2 separate regions of the Homo sapiens genome follow, and region 2 is linked to region 1. Evidence: promoter capture Hi-C in 16 types of primary human blood cells and fetal thymus (Javierre and others, 2016). All regions are on one chromosome and are shown on one strand. The core of a region is centred on a gene start or on the middle of the fragment in contact, and the rest is flanking DNA. Distances in the headings are between cores, read along the strand shown. Region 1 holds the start of PALB2 (partner and localizer of BRCA2). Region 2 overlaps RBBP6 (RB binding protein 6, ubiquitin ligase).

Region 1 (3,027 bases), core at 294-2,793:
CCAAGATCGAGCCACTGCACTCCAGCCTGGGAGATAGAGCGGAGAGTCTGTCTCAAAAACAAACAAAACAAAACCTATGTGCAAAACATGCTACTAGACAAGTTGCCAACCGTAAGGAATTTTCTTTTTTTTTGAGAGACAGTCTCACTCTGTCGTCCAGCCTGGCGTGCAGTGGCGCGATCTCGGCAGCTCCCTGCAACCTCAGCGTCCCCTGGTTCAAGCGATTCTCGTGCATCAGCCTCTGAGGCCTGAGCCTCTGGGACTACAGGCTGGCGTCACCACACCCGGCTAATTTTTGTATTTTTAGTAGAGACGGGGTTTCACTACGTTGCCTAGGCTGGTCTCAAACTCTGAGCTCAAGCGATCTGCCCATCTCGGCCTCCCAAAGTGCGGGGATTACAGGCGTGAGCCAGGGAGACTGGCCTCCCACCAATCTTATCAATGTCTGGGGATTATCTTGTTTACTTATAAATGATCTTTCTCACCTCCACCAGAAGGTAAGCCAGGATAAGAATAACATCAGCACAAGCTGGAAACATCCTAAAAGTCTATCAGTAAAGTACAGTCTAAAGAAGCAAGGGCACTTCCAAGGCCAGGTGCAGTGGCGGGTTCGTGTAATCCCAGCTACTCGGGAGGCTGAGGCAGGAGAGTCGCTTGATCCCAGGAAGCGGAGGTTGCAGTGAGCCGAGATCGCGCCACTGCACCCCAGCATGGGTGGCAGAGTGAGACTCTGTCTCAAAAAAGAAGAAAAACAGAAAAGGAAGAAAAAAGAAACAAAACGAGGGCACTTCCAAACTACAACATACTGTCTAGAACTTAAAAAAGAAAGCAAGGTAGATAAACATGTCCTGACAGGAAAGCTAAACGGAACCTGCAGAACCATTCAGATCATACCATTTATGAACATTCCCTTCTCCAAAAAATATACATAGGATTCCTTTTTGGTGGTTAGGGATACGCCCCTCCTCCACCACCCACATTAACACACGAAAGGACCTGGAAGTACCAGACTTAAAAGATTTACTTGAGGCCGTCCGGGGGGAGAAGTAAAGATTGAGGGTGTGGGAGGGGGGAGGAGCAAGGGTGTCGATACAGCTTTATCTACAAACTGTTACACATTGTATTAATGCGCTGCTACTGTAATGAAATTTGTTCTTTAAACGCCACCACGTGAGCACCACGCTATTTCCACATTTTCATTTTCTGTGCCCCCTCAGCCCTAAGAGGAGGGGGTGGTCAGATGATACTGCTGCCCTCGGACTGCCGAGGACACAAAGCCAGGCCTAAAACCCTGGGAAAGCGGGGTCAGAGTCCTGCGTCCGCCCTTCCCGCACCCCCGGCACCTTTTCCTTCTCCTCACAGCTGAGGGGCTTCCCGGGAGGCTCGTCCATCGGGCAGGCGACAGAACGAAAAGAGCAGCCGTCGCCGACCCCAGGCCTGCCGACACCGGGACCCAGTTGGCCCTGGGCCGGGGAGGCGCCCCAGGAAGGAATGGGGAGCCCGGGATCGCACCCTCAGTGCGCGATCAGCTGACCCACGCGGGCCAAGCGCGCCCTAAACTCCGGCCAATTAAATCCACCATTCGGCCTGCGCACGCGCAGCCGTAGACGGCCGAGCAGTGGAGCGAGGCCGCCTAAAGGAGAGCCGCGCTGTCGATGAGTCCCAGTGGGCCACCTGGAGCGGAAGTGGAGGAGCGGCCGGAAGTAGCCGGAATCTCTGAAAGACTGACCGACTGACTCTGACAGGATCCGGGGCTGAGGGAAGGAGGCGGCGGCCATGGAGTTGGGCGAGCTGCTCTACAACAAGTCTGAGTACATCGAGACGGTGCGCGGGTCCAGATATGTATCCTCCTCTTTCCAACCCTGCGTCCCTTTGAGGCCTGGTCGGCGTTCCCAACCTGCCCCTACCCCACCAACCCCTGTCCCTTTGGCCATTAGTCCCGGATTATCTAGCGATGCCCCGTGTACCGTCTGGCTTTGCTGTTTACTCCGCGCTTGGCCAGTTGAGGCCTTTTGTATTTATTCCTGATTTTCTCATAGGGGTAAAGTGCCTTCGGGAGGATAGGACAAGTCCCATCCTGTTCATACGAATTACAGCTCGGACTTCGGGCCCTTTTACACTGCCTTTTGTATCTGTTAACTTGCGCTAAAAACGATTCGGTTCTTTTTTTTTGAGGAAGGGGGTTGGGGGGCGGAGACTCTGTCGCCCAGTCCTGAGGGCCGCGGCGCGATCTCTGCTCACTGCAACCTCCGCCTCCCGGGTTCAAGCGATTCTCCTGCCTCAGCGTCTCGAGTAGCTGGGATTACAGGCGCCCGCCACCACGCCCGGCTAATTTTTGTATTTTTTGGTAGAGACGGGGTTTCACCGTGTTGGCCAGGCAGGTCCCTAACTCTTGACCTCAGGTGATCGACCCGCCTCGGCCTCCCAAAGTGCTGGCATTACAGGCGTGAGCCACCGCACCCTGCCGATTTGGTTCTTTATGATCAGTACATGATATGTTTGTAAAATCTTGGAAACAGGGCAAGTGGTCAATTAACGTTACTATCGTTATTTTGGTTTTCTTTGCTTTCTCACAACTCTGATACTCATAGTCATTATCCTCGTTTTAAGGCCGTAAAGCCCACGCGTGGAAGTGGGATTTGAATCCGCGTCTGTCTGATGCCACCAAGCTATAGACATTCAAATTATGAGTTTATTCCTTGAGTCCCTAGTTTCCTTTGTGTTTTTATTTTTTGAGACAGGTTCTCACTCTGTTGCCCAGGCTGGAGTGCAGTGGCACAATCACAGCTCATTGCAGCCTCGGCCTTCCAGGCTCAAGCGATCCTCTAGCCTCAGCCTTCTGAGGAGCTGGGACTACAGACACGCGCCACCATGCCCGGCTAATTAAAAAATTTTTTTTTTGTTGAGAAGGGGTCTCACTATGTTGCCTAGGCTGGTCTTGAGCTCCTGTCCTCAAGGGATCCGTCTGCCTCAGCCTCTCAAAGTGCTGAGATTACAGGCATGAGCCACCATACTCAGCCATAGTTT
Region 2 (3,173 bases), core at 103-2,602, 920 kb after region 1:
AGGCAAACTAGATAATGGAAGGTCCAAACTAGGCAGCGGGTCGCTGCTCTTTATTGTAAACTTTCATGTGCCAGATTAACATTTTTTATGTAAAATGTCAAAATTCAAGCTTATATGAGGGTTTTTTTTAAATGAGCAAATCTTTTCTAAAATACAAAATTTTAAAAGTTTTTTTCTACTTTCATATCCAACAAATGGGGATCTTGACAGGACTTCAGTTTAATGAATAGATAAGAATTACTTGAAAAGTTATTTTAAATATGGTGGCAGTTATTTTCCTAGTAGGTTTAACTTTTTCTACCCTTAATTTGGATGATCAAAGTTTGATTTGAGTACATAAATACATAATAAGATTAACGTCTACCAAACAAAAATTTTTTGTCTGAAATCGAGTTGTTCTTGCCACCCTAAAATACAAAGAACTTTGATTTTCTCTGTGGGATATTTTATGGCATTAAAAATCAGCAGACTTACTTAATGTATTTTTAGTTATATAATTATTTCTGTTTATATAATCCGATTGAAAATTGATATATTCTTAAAAGTATGAGTTACTAGCAGGATGTATCAGTAGAAGGAACATAGGATTTAGAAACAGGTAGACTTGGGTTTGAATCCCATCTCCTTCATTTCCTAGCTGCATGACAGTGGTCTTGTGGTTTTACTCCCTAACATCCATTTCCTCGTTTGGATTTGGAATGACACTACCTACCTTAACATGTAAAATGACTTCATTGTGCCCAGCAGACAAAAGGGCTCTTTTCCTTGTATATAACAATAAGTTCACAGAGTAATTTATAGAGTGCTAATTAAAATATAATATTACATAAAGTAATCTATTTTGAGGTCTAGTTATTGTTATGATACAGTTAATTGGTGGGGGAAAGTTAGTTTTAAGTAAATATAATATTTACTCAGCTCTGTATCCGAAACAAATTTAAGAACTGGGGAGTAGGAAAAAGTTTTCAGAGTAGTTAAAATTGGTGTCTTAACAGCTATGCATGGAAAGGTCATGTATTATACCCATGGAGAAATACTTGAGCCTATTTTTTTTTCTCCCACACAGTTCCAACAAACTTGGCTATCTGGTTTCTCCACCACAACAAATTAGAAGAGGGGAGAGGAGCTGCTACAGGTAGGCATGCTAAAAATCTTGGAAAATAATCATCTTATTTTTTATATATATATCTCACCAAAGAAATTAAAGCACAGCAGTGGCAGGAAGGAAGGGGGTCATTTGTTTGTATTGTGCTTATCCCTCTTAAGTCCTGGGTAGTTGTCCTTAAAGAGGGCTAGAAAAGAATAAATTATATATAGTATCTTAAATGATGGTTTTTAAGACATTTTTAATATTCCTTCCCAGTGATTACTTTCTCCCTGTCAGCAAACAGCAGAGTATTGGCTTGCATTTACCCTCTTGGAAGTAGAAGAAAGTCAGGGGTCAGACAATATCTAAGATACCAGTTTAATTTAAGATTAAAGTTAACAAGCTCAGCTCCCAACTGTGAACAAGAATTGCAACTATTTCTCTTCTAGACCCCACTGTCCCAATCATCTCCCACCGTCTCTTTTCCAAAAGAAGAGACAGGAGATTGTTAGAGGCTCCTGCCCTAGTGGGCGGGTACAAGCAATATTAATCTAAGAAGTAAGAATCTTACTGTCTAGGTCAGGGGTCCCCAACCCTGGGCCACAGACCAGTATCCATCCTTGGCCTGTTAGGAACTGGGCAACACAGCAGGAGGTGAACAGCAGCTGAGCGAGCATTACCACCTGAGCTCCACCTCTTGTCAGATCAGCAGTGGCATTAAGATTCTCATAGGAGCATGAACCCTGTTGTGAACTGCGTGTGCAAAGGATCTGGGTTGCACGCTTCTTAGGAGAATCTAATGCCTGATCATCTAAGGTGGAACAGTTTTTACCCCCCTGCCCCCGTCCATGGAAAAATTGTCTTCCACAAAACAGCTCCCTGGTGCCAAAACGGTTGAGAACTGCTAGTCTAGGTCATAATCACCACCAGGATAAAGGAGCCTCCAAAACTTCATAACAAGAGTTTTGGCCAGGCATAATGGCTCATGCTGGTAATTTTAGAGCTTTGGGAGGCTGATGGGGGAGGATTGCTTGAGGCCTGAAGTTCAAGATTAGCCTGGGCAACATAGCAAGACTCTGTCTCTACCAAAAAAATAAAATAACCAGACATGGTGGCATGCACCTGTGGTCCCAGCTACCTGGGAGGCTGAGGCAGGAGGATCACTTGAGCTTAGGAAGTCAAGGCTGCAGTGAGCTATAACCACATCACTGCACTTTAGCCTAGGGGACAGAGTGAGACCCTGTCTCCAAAAAGAAGGAAATTCGGGATATCTTCTAGTGCTTCATTGCTAAACTTATGAAAGTTTACTATGTCATTACTGGATCACATTTTAAAAGAAGGTAATAGTTATTCATGGCTCACTGAAAAGATGCTTAAAATCTAAACCCCTACTGTTGCTGTTGTGTACCAATTATTTATAATTTAAAGCACCTCTAGTTTAACAGAAGTAACCAGTTCTGTTTGGTGAGGCACAAATTAGAAACTTAGCCAACACTGTTATTTTTACTTAAGCTTTTGAGAGAAAGCGTTGATATTTTCATTGTTAATTATAGAAGTTAAAACTAGAATTTATTCTGCTTTGTATGATCTTTACCCACTTCCTCCCTCAAAAAAGAGGTTACAGGAGTTGGTTTTCCTTCATTTAAACTTTTGGGGCCAGGTGTGGTGGCTCTCACCTGTAACCCCAGCACTTTGTGCAGATCACCTGAGGTCAGGAGTTTGAGAACAGCCTGCCCAACATGGTGAAACCCTGTCTCTCCTAAAAATACAAAAATTAGCTGGGCATGGTGGCACACGTCTCTAGTCCCAGCTACTTGGGAAGCTGAGGCAGGAGAATTCGCTTGAACCCAGGAGGTGGAGGTTGCAGTGAGCCAAGATTACACCACTGTAGTCCAGCCTGGACGACAGAGTGAGACTCTGTCTCAAAAAATAAAAAATAAATGAATAAGTAAGCTTTTGGGGAGAGCTAGGTCATAGCAGCATTAACCTGTCAGTGCCTTCAAAAGACAGTTTAGGAAGTAACAGGTAGTAATTAGTGGAGTGATAATCAGTCTGAACTTCATAAAAGAGAACTTTTAAATACAAT

What was found. Contacts are between HindIII fragments. The CHiCAGO score rates a contact against its expected background, and 5 or more counts as called.
Region 2: a contact is called between a fragment that was not itself captured here and the fragment with the promoter of PALB2 in region 1, in 1 of 17 cell types (M2 macrophages). The highest score is 6.6, in M2 macrophages.

Annotation. Positions count from the first base shown.
Region 1 is chr16:23,639,767-23,642,793 of GRCh38, forward strand. PALB2 (partner and localizer of BRCA2) reads right to left here and starts at 1,544. Exons shown (of 13, transcript NM_024675.4): 1 at 1,344-1,544. The coding sequence starts at 1,391. It overlaps DCTN5 (dynactin subunit 5), which reads left to right and starts at 1,700. Exons shown (of 6, transcript NM_032486.4): 1 at 1,700-1,824. The coding sequence starts at 1,777. RefSeq lists a silencer at 611-845 and an enhancer at 1,973-2,762. The HindIII fragment of the contact is 17,437 bases long and covers 1-3,027 here.
Region 2 is chr16:24,563,731-24,566,903 of GRCh38, forward strand. It overlaps RBBP6 (RB binding protein 6, ubiquitin ligase), which reads left to right. Exons shown (of 18, transcript NM_006910.5): 14 at 1,067-1,135. Among named protein-coding and RNA genes, the nearest start is that of RBBP6, 26 kb to the left of the region's middle. The HindIII fragment of the contact is 2,490 bases long and covers 108-2,597 here.